Regions from separate parts of the Homo sapiens genome. Here all the other regions are linked to region 2. Evidence: promoter capture Hi-C in human tissues and cell types (Jung and others, 2019). All regions are on one chromosome and are shown on one strand. The core of a region is centred on a gene start or on the middle of the fragment in contact, and the rest is flanking DNA. Distances in the headings are between cores, read along the strand shown. Region 1 has its middle 390 kb from the start of PRR20A. Region 2 holds the start of PRR20A (proline rich 20A). Region 3 has its middle 74 kb from the start of PCDH17. Region 4 overlaps LOC105370217 (a long non-coding RNA gene).

Region 1 (3,202 bases), core at 668-3,167, 390 kb after region 2:
TGTGTAGGTAGGATTGCAAATTCAGTGAGAAGATACTGGGAGATTTCCGTTCTTATAAAATATATAACAAAGGTAATGAAGTTGGGTTAGGAGCTAGTGGAGAAGTATTGCAATCTATGCTGCATTAAATTAAAGCATGAGCTGTCTATAGTCATATAGAATTCCTGGGTAAAACTGATGGGGTTCTTTTCCCCTCAGTTAAGAGACAAAAATTTTGAATGTTCTCAGTCTCTATGGTTATATATTTTTCTGTAATAGTGTTTATGAGCTCAAAAATAAGGTCAGTCAAGATAGGACCAGAAGGCTGATATTGACCATTGAGTGCTTGAAGTTGTAAACTTTGTAGATGCATGAAGAAGGAAGTACACAGCAAAGAATTAAAAATTTTAGAACAAGTAGAGACATAAAAGGTCAAATGACTGTTTTTAAATCAGATTTTTAATGCATTCACTAAGTATAAGTATAGTTATAAGTATAGTTATTAGGGTGATATTTGTTATGATTTCTTAACATGACACCCCTATTTTTGATTGTTGAATAGTTTTACATGTATGGGATTTTTTTCATTTATTAATTTTTAGAGAAGAAAAATACAGAACAGTAAGAAGGACTATTTTATTTCCACATTTAGATATTTAGGCACATACAAAAGGAAAAAAAAATCCATCCCGTGTAATTTTATTGCTCTAAAGTTTATATTTGACACCCTTGTAGAGAACAGGAAGGAAATTATGTGGTGAGAAACTGTAATGGTTTGTATGTTTTTATCTATCTGATGTTTCATGTGTGGATATTAGTGGATGCAATTCTTTCAGTCAACTTTCCTTCCTGCTGCGAAGAACTGGAAGGGGTCTATGTGAGAGTAGAACTGTAAGTAATACTTAAAAGAAAATGAAAATTAATTCCTATTGAAATTGTTAATTAGGAAATTCTGAGAAGTGTGTTTATTTTTCTTGTTTATTCAATGGCCTGAGATTAGTTGAATTATTGTATTCTAAATTATGTAGCCACAATTAATAATAAAAGTAGCTATTTTTTTTTTTTTTGAGATAGTGTCTCCCTCTCTTGCCTAGGCTGGAGTGCAGTGGTATGATCTTCGCTCGCTGCAGCCTCCCTCTGCCTCCCAGGTTCAAGCAATTCTCCTGCCTCAGCCTCCCCAGTACCTGAGACTACAGTCTCACGCCACTGCGTCCAGCTAATTTTTGCATTTTTAGTAGACACGGGGTTTTGCCATGTTGGCCAGTCTGGTCTTGAGCTCCTGACCCCACGTGATCCACCCGCCTCAGCCTTGAAAAGAGCTGGGACTACAGGCCTGAGCCACTGCGCCCAGCCAATATTTTTTGAGTATTCATTTTAATCTGGCCACTGTGCTAAGAGCTTCACATAGATTATTTCAATTATTACTACAGCCTTAGTGGTAGGGAGCAATTTTATCAAAACTCTGTAGATAAAAACAGTAAAGCTTGAGAACTTAAGTAACTTTCCCAAAGTCACAGTTAGTAAATATCAGGAACAGAGAGGGATTCAAATCCCCATAGCAGTCTACAGTTTACATTTTCCTTGTTAGAAGTCTGTAGCAGCCACATACATCTCTGCATTATTCACAGTGGTCCCTTTAACAGATGAAGCCAACATTATTGCTAGCTCTCTGTGAGGGTAAGAAATGGCTCCCTAAGAGTGGTTTCCAGGCCAGCAGCAGCTGCTCCACCTGGGAATTTGTTAGGAATGCAAGCTCTCAGGCTACCACCCCAAAGCAAGTGAATCAAGAGCTCAGGCTGCTGGCTGAACTAATCTAGCATGATTCAGAAACACAACAAAATCTAGGAATTTCTGGTGTAGGTTATGGTCACAGTTCCTGAAGTCATTTGATTTGTTCCACTGATCGTCTAAGACAGGGTTACTCAACAGGTAAGAACTTTGGATTCTGTGATTGGACATTTAATTCCCACACAGGAAAGCCCTATTACAGTATTGTTACACATGAAGATCAATACTTAAATTAATCTGATCTCATTTTCACGGAATCATTTAGATATTCTTAAAATTTCATGAACTGTTAATACTGTTCTCATCCGCTATCTGGTGCTGATAGTAAAAATTACCTGGCTTAAAAAAACTCTTGTCATTTCAATGAAAGAAGATGTCAAGTGATAATTATAAGTTCTCTGATAAATATAAACGCTCTTTGTTCCTCTCCCTTTTCTATGACACCATAATCATTCTGCAACATTCCCCTGGCGCTCCTCATTGGACCTTACTTTTAAAGAAGGCTCTTCTATACAATTTTATACTCTATTTTCTCTAAACAGAATTTACAGCCCAGATGGTACTCTAAGCTTTGTGAACAACTCCAGTCAATATCTAATAAACAAGGATTATTATTTTAAAAGAGTTATGAGAAAGTTTGAAATCCATCCTGTATGGTTACTGCTGGTATCTTTCAGACAGTTCTGTGGGCTAGTTAAACTGGCAAAGCCTTAGGATAGACTTAGATTCTTACCTGCTCAGAGTATTCCCATTTTAGAAGACAAAGTTTTCAGGATGTGATCATTTTCCACTCCCAGGAAATCACTTTTCCTTGAAAAATCTGCCTATTATTTATAATAAGTTGAAAGAAACTAGGAACAAATACCATTAAAATACTATTATATGTTATAATGTATCCATTGTTCTCATACCCTAATTTTTATATGATGTGTTCTCTTTTCTCTCCTTACCAATATTTCTCTTAAAAAAAATCGGTTGTTCTTGTTAGAAAATATGTGTCAATGAAAAATGTTTCAAAATAGCCTATTTGGGGCTTGACCAGGAATATAGTATAATATTTTTGTTCCTTTGCATAGAAAGCTTTGCTTTGTTTGTAAGGTATACACAGGTATGCCCTACAGTGGACTGCAACCCAGTTATTGACAAACTGATTCCAGCCAAATTTATATGTCAATTCTGTTAGCATTACATCTCAGTGTAAATTTACATTGTTCATGTCTACCCTACTAGTTGCTAAAATGTTTTAAAGCAATCATGAGACTATATAATGAGTGCTACTTGTCTTTTATGTCTTAAAAATGTTTATAAAGATAGATATAACATTGTTAGTAGAGAAATTTTTGCTCACTGAGTAAATCACAGCCATCAATAACAGGCTGACTTGGTTTTGATATGCTGAGAAATTCAATCTCAGAGCACTCTTCACACTGTAAAT
Region 2 (3,263 bases), core at 114-2,613:
AGGGATTTCTGAAGTTAAAATTGTGAGAGAAGAAACAAAACTCTCCACGGAAGTTGGAGAATGAAGTTGAGAAGGTCTCCCACAGAACAAAGCAAAAACCTAAAATGATGGAAAGAAGGATGAAATATAAGAGAATTAGAGGTATGCTGTGGCTGAGACATTTCACCAGAAAATTTCAGAGTGCTGAGGAAAAAGAGAAGATTCTAACAGATTCTAGAGAGCGGGAGACAGAGAAAGGAAAAGTCACATGGAAAGGGCTAGGATTCCACATGTCTCAAAAGTCAGACATCTCAAAAGCAGCAGTTCAGTCTAGAACATAACAGAAAATGTCTTCGAAATTTCAAGGGAAATGAATTTCCCACCTAAAATTTCCTGTCCAACCGAAGTTTCGCTGAAGAATCTGGGAGGGGAGAATGAAGATGTTTCAGACAAGCAAGATGTTAAAGAATTTCCTTTCAGTGGATGCTTTATTGTTATGCATCTGTCAAACTAGACAAGATTAAAAGATTTAGGACACTCAGCGTATGAAGGGAAAAGTTTTGGAGAACAACGTGGCAACAGCCGGAAAATTCCAACTCCTCCGGGAAAGAACAAGGTGGAAGTACCGGTTTATCATAGATCAAGACGTAGCGTGAGGACTCGCTCTGCTACGGAGAAACAGTAATACAAAACTAAACAGAAGGAAACAGCGACAACAACAGCAAATCTCAGATTTGGGAAATGGGATTACGGTTCGGAAGAGGGAAAGGAATTTCCCAGATGATGTGGAACCCGGGAGCTGACTTCCAACAAGCAGCCCAGGTTGAGGCAGGCTAGGAGAAGGTGAAACAGAGAATGCTTGATTGAGTTTGAGTGTCAACCATTGGGGAAGAATTGGGGAACAGACGAAATTAAAAAGAGAGGAGTGGCAGGCGTTTGATGTACCTTGATTAGGGGCCATGGAGCGAAGTCGCTTCGAAGGCCTTGGTTCCTCCATGAGCAATCGGCGGGAGGGGCTGGGGAGAAAAACAAGAGAGCAAGAACGGATTTAGGAAGACAGAGGTGACAAGGCAGGGGGATGGCCGTGGCCTTTCTAGGGGAATGAGGATTCTGTCCCCAACTGCACCCACCCGAGATCCGTCCACGCCTCCGGGACCCCCAGACACACACCTGATCTTCCCACAGCTGGCTCCGGAGATCTGAAAATTAGGAGACTCTTCGACGAAGAGAGGCCCGAGGAGTCGGAGGTGTCCACAGGTTCACCGCTGTAGCTCTGAGGTAGTCCACCCGCAGCCAGGGAGTCTGGAGGGAGCACGCAGCAGGTTCTGGCTCCGAGCCCAGCAGAAAGCCGACTGCTGGAGGCCGAGCGCCGTCCCTCTTATATGGCAGCAAGGCAGTCGCGTAAGGGACAGGCGTCGTCAGAGGGGGGCCGGCTGGGGCGGGCCTGGCTGGGCTTGCGAGGCGCATTGGGCCAGTCCCCTGCCAGTCAAATGGGGGCCCTTCTGAGATGCCGCCATTTCTAGACGTCCGTGGTTGATTGATTAATCTAATCATCGAGGAAAAAAAATTGCATAATGACCTCTGAGTGTCAGCACAATGAGGTGTGGTGCCCTGAAAGCGGCTGACAGGAAGATGCGATTAGCTTAGATCTGAGCATGGTCAAGGAAAGCATCCAAAGCGGGGATATCTGGGCTGAAATCTGGAACATAACGTTTGAAATTAGTCATCCTGAACCGGGTTGGGAGAGGCAGGGAGGGAGGAAGGGGAGTGAAGAGAGTGTGCTGAGGCCCGGACTGGAAGGGAGCCCGGCACATTCTGGGAATGGACGGGAGGCCAAGTCCAGGCCCGGAGGTGGTGCGTGTGAGACGGGGCTGGAGATGCGTGTGAGACCCACACCGCTGGCTTTTATTGCTGTGGGTGCACTCACGGGTGGAGGAAGACAGCGGGAAACACAGCAGGACGCTGGAGGGGATCCCACAGTGGGTTATTTGGTTGGTTTGCATCCTTGTGTTTTTTACAGAGACTGGTTCTCGCTCTGTAGCCCAGGCTGGAGTGCAGCGGTGCCATCTCGGCTCGCTGCGGCTACTTGGGGGGGTTGGGGGGGGGTGGCTGAGATAGGAGAATCAGTTCAAGTGATTCTCCTGTCTCGGCCTCCGGAGTAGCTGGACTACAGGTGAGCGCCACCACATCGGGATAATTTTCGGATTTTTTTGGAGAGACGAGTTTTCGCTATGTGCCCAGGCTTGTTTGGAAGGCCTGAGCTCAAGCCGTCCGTCCCGCTCAACCTCCCGAGTCGCTGGGACCCCAGGCGCAAGCCACCATGCCGGGCCAATTACTTTTTTGGGTTGTATTTCCTGTTGAAGTGAGGTTTTGCTATGCTTTCACCTCACATACCTTTTCTGTCCCAAGACCCCATCCAGGGTACCACCTTACAACTCGTCACGGTTCCCCTTGGCTGCGACGGTTTCTCACACTTGCCTTGTTTTTGATGACTCTGACACTTTGAATACTGATCAGATATATTGTGGGATGTCCTCTCCTGAAGTTCGTGTGATGTATTCCTTGTGATCTGACTGGAATTATATGTTTTTGTCAGGAAGATTGCAGCGGGAAAGCGCCATTCCCATCCCATCCTGTCTAGAGTACACACCATCAAGCCGGCTTATCACTGCTGCTATTAGTCCTGGTCACCGGGCTGGGGCAGTGTTGATTAGGTTTCTCCACCATAAAGTGATTTTCCCACCTCTTTCTCTACTGTGCTTTCTGGAAGTCGCTACCTGTAGCCTATACGTAAAGAAAAGGGAAGTTTTGCTTTATCTCCTTGCAGGGGAATAGCTACCTAAGTTCTGTGGAGTTCTCCTGTGTGGAGGATTTTCCCATTCTCCCCCACATGTTTGTTTATTTAATCACTTATTTATATCCGTATGGACTTATGGACACCTATTGTATGCTTTGGTTTACACTCCAGTACTTCAGGGGATGAATTATTTAATAATTGAACTAATTATTTTGTCAAGTATTTTACTTAACTATTTAATTATTAATTATTTAGGTAATTACTTTGTTACTCAATGTTTCCAGCTTTGGCCACCGGGAGCTCCTTTAGTTGGCTTCCGTGTCCCTTTGTCAACCTCCCATCTCAGCAAACTAACACAGGAAAAGAAAACCAAATATCACATGTGCTCACTCATAAGTGGGCGTCGAACAATGTGAATACATAGACACAGGGAGGGGAATATCACACACTGGGGTCTGTGAGGGACTGGGAATCTAGGGGAGGGAGA
Region 3 (3,226 bases), core at 14-2,513, 420 kb before region 2:
TGAAGGAAAATTTTTATGATAGTCAAATCATTATTCAATCTAAAGGAAGAAATGTATTTATAATGTATATTATACACACATACACATGCACACCTATATATAACATATATTATATATACAGTAGTTCCTTTTATCCATGGGGGATATGTTCCAAGACCTTCAGCAAATGCCTGAAACAATGGATAGTATTGAATCCTATATATATTATGTTTTTTTAAAACATACTTACCTGTTGTAAAGTTTATAAATTAGGGATAGTAAGAGAGTAATAATAACTAATAATAAAATAGAAAAGCTGTAACAATATACTACAATAAAAATTATGCAAATGTGTTTTCTCTCTCTCAAAATATCTTATTGTAACGTACTAACCTATTTTAAGACAGTGGTTTATCACGGGTGACAAACTGTGGAAGCCAAATTGTGGATTGGGAGAACTATTGTATGTGTGTGTATGGGTGTGTGTGTGTGATTAATTTCAAAGTAATAGTGTGATATTAAGGGATATAAATTTATGTAATATTGATATCTCTGATGTAATCTGTATTCTGGAAATGTCCTTAGATAATAATGACAGGTGACTAACAACAAAAATTATTTTAACTATAATGACTTATAATGGTCACAATAATAAAAAATGGTTCTTCCTGCTTGCTATTTCCAGTTCAAAATATTATATGCCCCCTATAGAAAAACTAAAGAAAACAAATTTACTTATTGTCAAGCGATCATATTTTCAAAGTAGAATACGGGACTTGAAAATTTGAAAATATGTCCAAAAGCAAAGAGGAAATATTGTAAAACAGAGTAATGTTTTATAAATAGAAATTATAGATCACACTCCGGATAATGTAAAGTGTTTAATTTAAAATCTTAATAAATTCTTGCATTAATATATATCATACATATTTTATCTTTGCCCCAGAAACCAGCACAGTGCAATAGAACTTTCTGGCTATTGAAGCTTTAATTTTAATTTAATAATTCACATGTGAATTGTGGCTACTATATTGGAGAACACATTTATAGATCCTTTTCTGTTTAAGATAAATGTAGACACTGTAATTGCAGTGGAAACAGGAGAGTGACTCATGTACTCAAGAAACTATTGACTGAGTAAAGTATTGTGAGTCCTAGATTAGCCATGTTGATCTAAATTACTTCTCTTTTGGTGAGAAGGCTCACCAAGTGCGCTTTACTGTGACAATGCAAGAAATCATGTTATTACTTTTATTGACCACGAGGAGGCACTGATTTGATAACACTCGAGGAACACCGAAAGAAAAACCACTCTGTAAAATAAACATGCCAGGTTAAAGCATCCTGACATTGATCAAGCAAGAATAAAGATAAGTAGAGCTTGTTTGACCATTCACTCTATGTTTCAGTGAATACTGTAAGTGAGCCAGAAATAAAGGCCTTAAATAACATGTGTGTTCAGACAAGCAATCCTCCTACAGTATTTCTGCTTTGAATGCTTCTCATGAACATGATAGGCAGGAAGCCATGGCAACTAGAAAGATGTAAAAGGCATCAGACAGCAAAGCTAAGCCACTCCTCGGCTATGACAATTACTATATTTGCATTTTCCTCATTTACCGAAATTAAAGCCTTTCAAATTCATTTGTGTAGCCTTTTTTTTATTAGTACCTTTAAAAAAAAAAAAAAGAGCACAACCCTGGAACACCGGGGGAAAGAAAAAAGAAAAAAAAAGGCATATACCAATTTGGTCTTACTTTATATTCTGTTTTCACAAATAATTCCTAAAGGAAAAGAAAGCCATTGAACAAATACTATTTTAGTTGATACTAGTTTCTAAAAGTAATGCATATTTTGCACAAAATGCTATTCATAATAATAAACATCAAAATGTCTGTTAACTATAGTTTGGAATTGTTTTAATTCTTTCTTCACATAATTTAACAAATGCTTGAGTGGCCATAAACTCAGACTTATAAAACTAAACCTAGCAAAGAAAATAAATCAAAGATGTAGAATATTATAGAAACGTTTATCTTCTATCTCCAGTCTTTACTTTTCCCCACTCAATTCATAATTCAAAGCAACATATTGACCTACTCAACCCCTATTTTAGATAAGGCTGATTTCTGACACAGTAGAAGCCCAAATTAATTTATTTTGGAAAGATTTTGTTCTATATTATATATTATATTTGAAGATTACTACTATAGTATTCTCAGTTTAGAACAGAAATAAACTAATGGCATACAAATTAAAAACTACAATCTTTGCTCCAAATGTGAAAGGAGCCAGCTGCTGGTGTGAAGATTGTTGACCCTAGCCTTTTCATTCTTCCTTAACTGAAGGAACATTTACCATTGCCCATTGTTAATTAATTATAATTTCCTGTTCTCATCAGAAATAATAGAAATGTGTCTTTGATGAAGAACTTTAATATATGATCCAATACCCTGAAAGTTTTTACCTGAGGAAGAACCCAGATTTTGTCTGTTTCAAGGGTAAATATAGTAGAGTAATTAAAATATGATCTTTGAATTCAGTTTGCCGAGGTCTGCTACCAGCACACTTTGTTTAGTTATACTAGCTTTCCCTGTACATAATGAAGGCTCTAATCTCATCCACTTTATAAGTTTCTAGATGAGAATTCACCTGGATTGTCTGGCACACAGTAAGCCCTTGAGAAGTGTTAGCTGCTGTCTGCATCGTATCCCTGTCATTATATTGTCATCATCCTCATCTTCATCAAAGTAATTTTCAGTCACTTTAGTTCATAAAAAGGGTCTCATTGACTATCTCAGTTATTTTCAGTAAGTTGGCAGTAGAACAATAGAAAGAAATTGATATAAGTACTTTTACAAAAAAGTAACAAAAATTGCGTACTTAAGTTTTCTAAAACATTGTGTTTATTTTTTAATGGAGTAGCATCATGTTAACAACAGAGGTCCTATGAATAGCCTGTGGTACAAACATCTTTCTTATTTTTCTCAGTTAGTTTTGCGTAAGTATTTTTCTCACTCAAATAGATTTTTTCACTCAGTGTTTGAGTTTATCTCAAACACCAAAACAGCCTTTTGGGGAAGTTTGACAAGCTTATATCTAACATTGTTGTCTGCAAACTAGCACCATGCAGGATAAAATGTCCCCTCATAAGAACGATAAAATGTTTTTCCAGAAAATTTGAGAGGTTAATTAAAGAATGTACATTAAAAATATCATTCGGGCTGGGCGTGGAGGCTAAGCCTGT
Region 4 (2,892 bases), core at 287-2,786, 340 kb before region 2:
TTTGAAGTCAGGTAGCATGATGCCTCCAGCTTTTTTCTTCTTGACCAGGATTGTCTGGGCATTGCAGGCTCTTTTTTGGTTCCATATGAAGTTTAAGGTAGTTTTTTCTAATTCTGTGAAGAAAGTCAATGGTAGCTTGATGGGGACAGCACTGAATCTGTAAATTACTCTGGGCAGTATGGCCATTTTCACGATATTGATTCTCCTTATCCCTGAGCATGGAATGTTTTTCCATTTGTTTGTGTCCTCTATTATTTCGTTGAGCAGTGGTTTGTAGTTCTTCTTGAAGAGGTTCTTCTCATTCCCTGTAAGTTGTATTCCTAGGTATTTTATTCTCTTAGTAGCAATTGTGAATGCGAGTTCACTCATGATTTGGCTCTCTGTTTGTCTGTTATTGGTGTATAGGAGCGCTTGTGATTTTTGCACATCGATTTTGTATCCTGAGACTTTGCTGAAGTTGCTTATCAGCTTAAGGAGATTTTGGGCTGAGACGATGGGGTTTTCTAGGTATACAATCATGTCATCTGCAAACAGAGACAATTTGACTTCCTCTCTTCCCATCTGAATACGCTTTCTTTCTTTCTCTTGCCTGATTACCCTGGCCAGAACTTCCGATACTATGTTGAATAGGAGTGGTGAGAGAGGGCTTCCTTGTCTTGTGCTGGTTTTCAAAGGGAATGTTTCCAGCTTTTACCCATTCAGTATGATATTGGATGTGGTTTTGTCATAAGTAGCTCTTATTATTTTGAGATACATTCCATTGGTACCCAGTTTATTGAGAGTTTTTAGTATGAAGGGGTGTTGAATTTCGTAAAAGGCCTTTTCTGCATCTATTGAGGTAATCATATGGTTTCTGTCATTGGTTCTGTTTATGTAATGGATTACATTTATTGATTTGCATATGTTGAACCTGCCTTGCATCCCAGGTATGAAGCACACTTGATCTTGGTGGATAAGCTTTTTGATGTGCTGCTAGATTTGGTTTGCCAGTATTTTGTTGAGGACTTTTGCACCTGTGTTCATAAGGGATATTTGCCTGAAATTTTCTTTTTTTTGTTGTGTCTCTGCCAGGTTTTGGTATCAGGATGATGCTGTTCTCTTTCTCTTGTTCATCTTGGATTTTCTTTTTGTGTATACTAGCCGACTTAATGGTGGTCCATAGTTTTTTGGTTTCTTCACTCTTTCTTTTCTTTTTCTCATTGCTTCTTTTTGAGTCCATGAATTCTTTCCTCTGTTTGGTCAACTCTGCTACTGCTGAACCACTTTATATCTTTAAGGTCCTAGGCTCAAAATATCTTTATGATTTCATGTTTTTGGTTGAAGTTATCATTTTTACATGCATTGTTTTCCTGAGCTCATCAATTGTCTTTATAATCATTATTTCGAATTTGTTGTCAGGTAATTTATATACCTCTGTTTTTAAGGATTGGTTTTGAGAGATTTATTTTTCCCTTGGATTGGGCCATTTTATATATATATATTTTTAACTGATCCTTATAAGTTTGTTTTGAAATCTGGGAGTGGTGGTCTATGCCTGTAGTCCCAACTTCTCAAGAGACTGAGGCAACAGGATCACCTGAGCCTAAGGGTTTGAGTCCAGCCTGGGCAACTTAGCTCCATCTCTGAAAATGTTGATATGCACACATTTGAAAAAAATATCTCTTCTCCCAGTCTTTATGGACTGGGTTTGTACAGGAGAAGACCTTTTACTAATTAGCCTAGCTACAAATCCCAAGGTCTTCTTAAAACTTTTCTGTGGGTATGTCTTCTTTGGTCTTGTGCATATATATTTTAATTAAAATAATTTTTTCTAGGAACTTGTAATTTCTTACTCCCTCTGATGTAAGTCTGCTCTTCCATGTAAACTTGGAAGCAGCAGTATGCCAACCAGCTCTTTTAAAATATTTTTTCTCAATAGCCCCTTGGAATCTAGTATATGCCAAGTTCCCGTAAGTGTCTTGGGTTGAGCTACATGGAAACTGATCTCTTAGGAAGCCCCCAAAATACTGGCCTTTTGAACATTTGCTACACCCTTCTTTTTCCCCCTGAAGGAGAAGTCACCACACTGTAAAAGCTTCTGTCTGCTGTACTGAAGATTCTATGGAGCAGTAACATGCTGAACAACTTTATTTGTCGTTGTTGTTCTCAGTGTTCTCCAGGCATCTAAAGAATGCTAGGTTATGTCAGTGCTTTGCAACAGGTTGAACAGAAGACAGTACCTTGTACAGCCCCCTCAAAAGTTCAGAACATTGGATGCATATTCTAACCTTCCACTATTCTTCCCCAGGAAAAAGCCAGGACCTGAGTTCCTCTGAATTGTGCATCTTTTTTTTCTGTGAAAGTGACTATAGCCAGAGGGTGCCACAAATTTTTCTTCTGTTTTGATACAACTAGTTAATGTTTGTTTTTGATGCAGAAGCCTCTTATCTGGTTTTTGGATGTCTCACAAAGGAAACTGGTCTATGGATTGTTGTTGAATGTGTGTCTTCATGAAAAGAAAGAGGGCCTGGAGCTTCCTATTTTAACCATCTCGCTGATGTAACTCGAAGTATCCCTTATAGCTGAAATAGTACTATCTGGTACAGAGACTTCAGTAAATTGGAAAACCAAATATCTCCAGAATAGGTTATAGTTTTATATAAAGACAAGAAATACAATAAAGTGTTGAAGCACGAGGTTAAACAAAAAATATTTTGATACTGAGATAGCTTGACTGGAAACTCTTCTCACAATTTTTTTTTTCATTTTGAACTTCCTGATGAATGCAGATAAATCTTTGGAGATTTAGCAACATGAGAAAAAAAATGTTTACCAGCTTCATAATCTCCAAGTAAATAATGTCATAGCATGTTAATTTAAAGTAAAAATGCAAATATGTTGTTCAAGTAGATA

Evidence for each region. Contacts are between HindIII fragments. The study calls those that stand out against the background at their distance.
Region 1: a fragment that was not itself captured here is called in contact with the fragment with the promoter of PRR20A in region 2 in 5 of the 25 tissues and cell types used here (IMR-90 fibroblasts, liver, mesenchymal stem cells and 2 more).
Region 3: a fragment that was not itself captured here is called in contact with the fragment with the promoter of PRR20A in region 2 in 4 of the 25 tissues and cell types used here (H1 embryonic stem cells, dorsolateral prefrontal cortex, mesendoderm cells and 1 more).
Region 4: a fragment that was not itself captured here is called in contact with the fragment with the promoter of PRR20A in region 2 in 4 of the 25 tissues and cell types used here (dorsolateral prefrontal cortex, mesendoderm cells, spleen and 1 more).

The regions. Positions count from the first base shown.
Region 1 is chr13:56,751,340-56,754,541 of GRCh38, reverse strand. No RefSeq gene overlaps it. Among named protein-coding and RNA genes, the nearest start is that of PRR20A, 390 kb to the left of the region's middle. The HindIII fragment of the contact is 4,600 bases long and covers 1-3,202 here.
Region 2 is chr13:57,139,018-57,142,280 of GRCh38, reverse strand. It overlaps PRR20A (proline rich 20A), which reads right to left and starts at 1,363. Exons shown (of 3, transcript NM_198441.2): 1 at 1,150-1,363; 2 at 925-995. The coding sequence starts at 976. The HindIII fragment of the contact is 47,953 bases long and covers 1-3,263 here.
Region 3 is chr13:57,556,373-57,559,598 of GRCh38, reverse strand. No RefSeq gene overlaps it. Among named protein-coding and RNA genes, the nearest start is that of PCDH17, 74 kb to the left of the region's middle. The HindIII fragment of the contact is 7,029 bases long and covers 1-3,226 here.
Region 4 is chr13:57,475,640-57,478,531 of GRCh38, reverse strand. The region is part of intron 2 of LOC105370217 (a long non-coding RNA gene); the gene reads left to right. Among named protein-coding and RNA genes, the nearest start is that of PCDH17, 150 kb to the left of the region's middle. The HindIII fragment of the contact is 3,528 bases long and covers 1-2,892 here.